Regions from separate parts of the Homo sapiens genome. Here region 1 is linked to region 2. Evidence: promoter capture Hi-C in 16 types of primary human blood cells and fetal thymus (Javierre and others, 2016). All regions are on one chromosome and are shown on one strand. Each heading gives the region's core, a stretch centred on a gene start or on the middle of the fragment in contact. The rest is flanking DNA. Distances are from core to core; before and after follow the strand shown. Region 1 overlaps EML6 (EMAP like 6). Region 2 holds the start of CCDC88A (coiled-coil domain containing 88A).

Region 1 (2,700 bases), core at 107-2,606, 660 kb before region 2:
GAAATAGCAATAATATTATTTGCTAATATTTATTGAATGCTGACTAAACGCATAGTAACTTTATTCATTTAAGGAGCTTTTAAAGGTTTTATAGAGTTTTTAAAAGTCATAAATTCAGACATAAATTAGCAATGGATGCCAAATCTGGGGGAGAGAGAAAAACTTTAAAAACTCTAAAAACTTTACATGTACCAACTCATTTAAATCTAAAGAAAAGTTGGATTTATACCAACACATCTTCATCACCAAGCTAGCATGTGAATGCTCAGGAGAGAGCATGCAGAATCTGCTCAAAATGGAGACATTTTAACTATATCCCAATGTTAGGCTGTGCTAAGGTGATCCAAGAGTGAAGTTCGAGGTTGGACAAAATTAGATGTAATTAATAGTTGAGGAAACTTCCTTCCCTCCATATATATATATATAAAATCTTTGTTTACATATAATATATATTTATATATATTTTAATGATTAAGTGTAGGTGAGAAATAAGATAACTTGCTCTAGATATCAGCAGGATCATTATACACAGCAGGATCAAGACTCCGGCTCCGATTCTGGGCCATTACTCTGATGCATTAAGAATGTTAGTAATTTAAATAGCCTAACTTCCAGTTTTTCTCAGTTTCCACTATTTTGTAGTCAAATTGATCTTGGTCTTAGATTTATTTAGTGTTTGACTCGATCCATATTTTTAATCATTGAAAATTAATTTTTAACTACTTAAGTAATACATGAATAAGTTTTCTTTTTTTTTTTTTAATTTTAGAACATTCCAAATGAAGCTTTCATTTCCTGTCCTGGTCTCCCTCCATGCTCCCCAGATATTCACTACTGCTATGAGTTTGGTATATATTTTTCAGATCTTTATATTCACGTACTACCCAAGAACATAACAGAGTATTGCTTTATGCATGTGCTTGATTTCTTTACATAAATTCCCCTATTGACAGACTTCTAGGTTCTTTTGCTTTTCAAACAGTGTTTCAGTGAATCCTTGCACACATGGGAGAGTGGCCCTCTAGGGAGATATCTAGAGGTGGACTTGGTTAGTCACAGGTATGCCCATTTTCAGTTTCAATATAGCCTAGAATTGCAGTACCTAGAGGCAGCAGGCTTGCAGAGTACCTGTTTCCCTACCATCTGGCCGGTATATGACACTATCAAATTCAATTTGTTTTGCCAAATGTAATTTTATCTGGGTTTTCTTTCTTATATGAAGAAGTAAGTTTCTATCTTTCCCTTATACAAACAAACCTTGACAGAGAATCACTGCTTTTGTCCTGGAATTCGGAAGATTTCAAAGATGGGAGGTGTACATGAGATCCATTCTCTCTCCCCATTGCTTTGAAGTTGAGGGAGCATTTTTTTTTTTTTTTTTTTTTTTACTAGAAAAAGAATCTGGGACAGACTGAAAGATGGAAGTTACTCTGTGTCTGGGAAATACAAACCTCCTGAATCTAGAAGCATGAGGCTTAGTATGATGAATGGTGACCAATAATGTTTTTATTAATCTGGGAAGTACTGAGTTTGGTAATCAGTATCTTTGAGGTTTATGCTAGTGAAGTTAATCCCAAGGCATTTGAGAAACTAGATTTCAGCTTCTCTGCTTTATGGTTTTAATTCCACTTTATTCTTAGTGGTAGTGCAGCCAAATGATAATAACTCTCATCATTGTTGAGAAATTGTTTTCCATATGGTTATTTCATCTGAGAATATGATTTTAAACAGACTACCAAAGTCATAGTACTCCCAGTTTGTGGAACGGACTTGTTTAATGTTATAAACTTGAATTTTGCAGTTTTGTGAACCAAAAAATATGATAATAAACAATACGCTTTGTTTCTTTTTTATTAATGCTTAACTGAAAAAAAAGCATAAATGAAGGTGCTTATTTTTATTAATTGGGGAAATACCAGGGATTAAACAAAGCTTAGTCCTTCAGTGTTTATAATTTCTGGTAAGAAAGTTGAATAAGGTATTTCCCCTTTTCAGAGCAGCTTACTAGTTTTATCTGAGGTATATAATATGTGAATGTAATTAAATTATCAAATTTGGTTGATCATTTAAAAAATCACAAAGGCATAAAAGTGGACATTTATGAATCACATTGCAATTTGGTCAAAAGTGATTCTTTCACTAACATAAATCATAAACTCTGTGGATATAGCTTGACTTTAATTTGTCTGAATTATGATATGGAAATGTTTAAAATGGTCAAAAATAGTTGAGGTACCTATGCTTTAAGTTTAAAATATAAGTCTATTTAAACTTATTTTGGAATCATTTCAAACTTGTAGAAAAATAGCAAGAATAGTCCACAGATTTCATCCATTTTTAGTATTTTGACACATTTTCTTTGTTATTCTTTCTCTTTATAGATACGCATTAGTATTGCTTTTTTTTTTGGAATCACTTGAAAGTAGGTTGAATGCATCATTCCCTTTTACCCTTAATACTAAAACATGTAATTTTAAGAATAAGGATAGTCACTTGTATAACCACAGTATGGTTATTAAATTCAGGAAATTTAATGTTGACACAATACTGTTATCTGCTCTATATTCTTCTTTAGTCAGTAATGCCAATAATTGCCTTTAGGGCAATTTTTTTCTGGTATAAGATCCAGCTCAGATAATGTATTGCATTTCATTTTCATGTCTCCTTAGTCTCTTTTAATCTGGAAAAGTGCCTAAGCCT
Region 2 (2,700 bases), core at 52-2,551:
ATTTCAGTACTGAAGACAAGTGACAATACATGGTTGACAGAATGAAAAACTAAAGTTTCACAATTTTAACAGGTAAAATATCTAGGTTGTGATAATGGGCTGAGCCCATAACATTAGCATTCCTTTCAAGATCCAATTCTTAAACCACCTGAATATTTCTGGCCAATGAACCAAATTAGGGGCTTAAAACATCGTGTCTCAAAGTTCACCATATGCTATTTCTCAAAGAAAACGTTACCTAGGAAAGAAGGAAGAACTTACATTTGGAGCATGACCTGGTTCAAGAATACCCCATCCACCAAAGCCACATATTCATCAAGGTTGGTCCCATTTCCTGCGGCCAGAGGTCCAAACGTTTTAACCTAGAACAAACAGAAGGATCACCACGACATGAACGCCCACCTCCATCTCTGCAGCCACAAATAACTCAGCAAAATATACAATAAAGGACACCCCACTTACCCAAGTGACCAAAGGGCTGGTCATGAACTGCTCCAGAAGGGGAGTAAAAATTTCGTTCTCCATTTTACAGAGTATGTATTTGAAAAAAGGAACTACCACAAAAATACGCCTAGGGAATTGGTCACTAAACGTGGAAGTAAGTAGAAATCAATGAAAGTCCATTTCGGCAAGGGAGAAAAATCCCATCGTGGAGGAGGGGGGCACTCTCCCTCCTCAAAAAACACCCCAGAGTGAAACGAGCCGAAATCCCAAGAAGTGGCTTCGACGACGGACACCACGAGCAGCAGCCTGCGCTGGAAATGTCTGTACCGGGCGAGGAGGGGCAGAGAAAAGGCATCTGGAGGAGGAGGAAGGGAAAGGGGGCTGGAACCCAAGACAAAAAGCCCGTCAAGGTTGTCCAGCTCCTGGAGGATCCAGACCAGCGAAACTGCTCCCAATGAATCAATCCCAACGGGGGCTAAATGAAATACGTTAAACAGAGACCACGTTAAGGATACCGAGGCGCCACCAGACTCGACCTCGGCGTTCCGACCTCTACACGTTCCACCCACCGATGGGCATGGAGCCGCTTTCGACCCGCGGAGCCTCCACTGCCCGCAGCCCCTCAGTACCAACAGGCAGGGCTCGCCCCTTCCCCCCGAGCAGACACCATTCCTCCGCCGCCCTCAAGCCTCGCCTCCAGCCCCCTTCCCCTCCCGGGGGTGGGGGCTTGAATGTGTGTCCCTAACCCCCCAGCTTCCTAAGCCCTGCCAGCCTTTCAGCGCGTCTCTGGGAATCCCTGGCACAAAATCACCGCCGCGCTCCAGCCTTCTCCGCCCTCTATGGAGAAGCCGGAGTAACGGCCTCAGAACCGCAGTGCCGCATCACACCCCACCCCTCGCCGCCCGCCAGCGCCGCCCGCCAATGCCGGGGGCCGCCGTCAAAGGGAGCGCGCTGCTCCCTCCGCGCCGATATCCTTCCGCCGACTCCCCGCCCCTCCCGTGCAGCTGCCTCTGGATTGTGGGAGAAGAAAACCGCTGCATGAGCGCGCTCCCGAGCGAGCGCGCCCCCGGGCTAGCCTCGCCGCCGCCCAGATCCTGGCGGCGGGCGCGGGCTCGGGCGTGGGCGCGCGCTCGCTGCAGCTGCTGCGGAGACAACCCGCTCCTCGGTTGCGCCCAGGACGGTTGCCTGGTGGGCGGGGACAGGGAAGGCAGAGCAAGGGGTCTGTCTGCTCGCTCGCTCATGCCTAATTATGGTTTATTTCCTCCCCGAGTGACTTCTTTGATACGTGAAGGAAGGGGAAAGAAATCCTTCTCTTATAAACATGAGGGATGCAGACAGCCTTTTTCGGACAGTTTGATGTGTTCTGTAAAGCATGCCTTCTCCCCAGCAAAATGGAATAGGAAAACTCACTGCAGCAAATGGCAGAGGGACTTGAGCCACAACTTGGTGGGGGTTTTTTTCTCCTTTTTGTTTTCTTCCAAATGCAGTCCACTAACGCATGAATGTTCTTCAAAGTTGCAAGTGACATACAGTAAGATTTTTTAAAAACCAGAGCTGTCTGTCAGCACGTTGGTATTCCCTGACTGGAGCAAACATGACTCAGACATTGTTTTTTGGTTTTGTTTTGTTTTTTACTATTTGGGCATGGGTCGGGGGAAACCCAAGCAAAATCAAGAGCTACAAAGAAGAAACATTTAGAAGTCATCCAAGTTGGGTGACAAATAAACAGATTACATATTTGTCATAAATCTCCATGCCACGTACGACTGGGACCTTGAAATAATTTTAAGTTCCCTGGCAAAATCAAATGCTACTCCTCATTTCAAAGGAAAATAAAGACCTTTTTCCCGGGGTAAAATGGGCATATAGAACGCAATCTTTTTTTGATAAAAGATAATATTATAGTTTTATAATGTGTGCTATGTTTACATTACATAAATATTTACACGGAGTATATATTTTAAATTAGCAGTAAAAATGTTTTTGTCATAACACAGTTAAGAAAGAGCAGAATTTCTTAATTGGGTAGTTGAGAACCTGGACTCTGAAGTCTTCCTGCCTGGTTCCAATATGCACCAGCTGTGTGAGCCTACGCACGTTATTGAGTCTCTTTGTGCTTCGATTCCGTCACGTGTAAAGCAGGGCTAATAATAGGGTTAAATGAAATGGCAGCTTATAGTTAAGTGTTCTATAAATGTCATTAATGTTGTTTTTAACATTATTCCTTCAAAATAAAGAACCTTTATGAAAAACTTG

What was found. Contacts are between HindIII fragments. The CHiCAGO score rates a contact against its expected background, and 5 or more counts as called.
Region 1: a fragment that was not itself captured here is called in contact with the fragment with the promoter of CCDC88A in region 2 in 1 of 17 cell types (fetal thymus); the score reaches 5.1 in fetal thymus.

Annotation. Positions count from the first base shown.
Region 1 is chr2:54,759,459-54,762,158 of GRCh38, forward strand. The region is part of intron 2 of EML6 (EMAP like 6); the gene reads left to right. Among named protein-coding and RNA genes, the nearest start is that of EML6-AS1, 9.8 kb to the left of the region's middle. The HindIII fragment of the contact is 1,147 bases long and covers 784-1,930 here.
Region 2 is chr2:55,418,555-55,421,254 of GRCh38, forward strand. CCDC88A (coiled-coil domain containing 88A) reads right to left here and starts at 1,302. Exons shown (of 33, transcript NM_001365480.1): 1 at 463-1,302; 2 at 262-362. The coding sequence starts at 525. RefSeq lists silencers at 1,203-1,272, 1,303-1,352, 1,413-1,702. The HindIII fragment of the contact is 14,096 bases long and covers 1-2,700 here.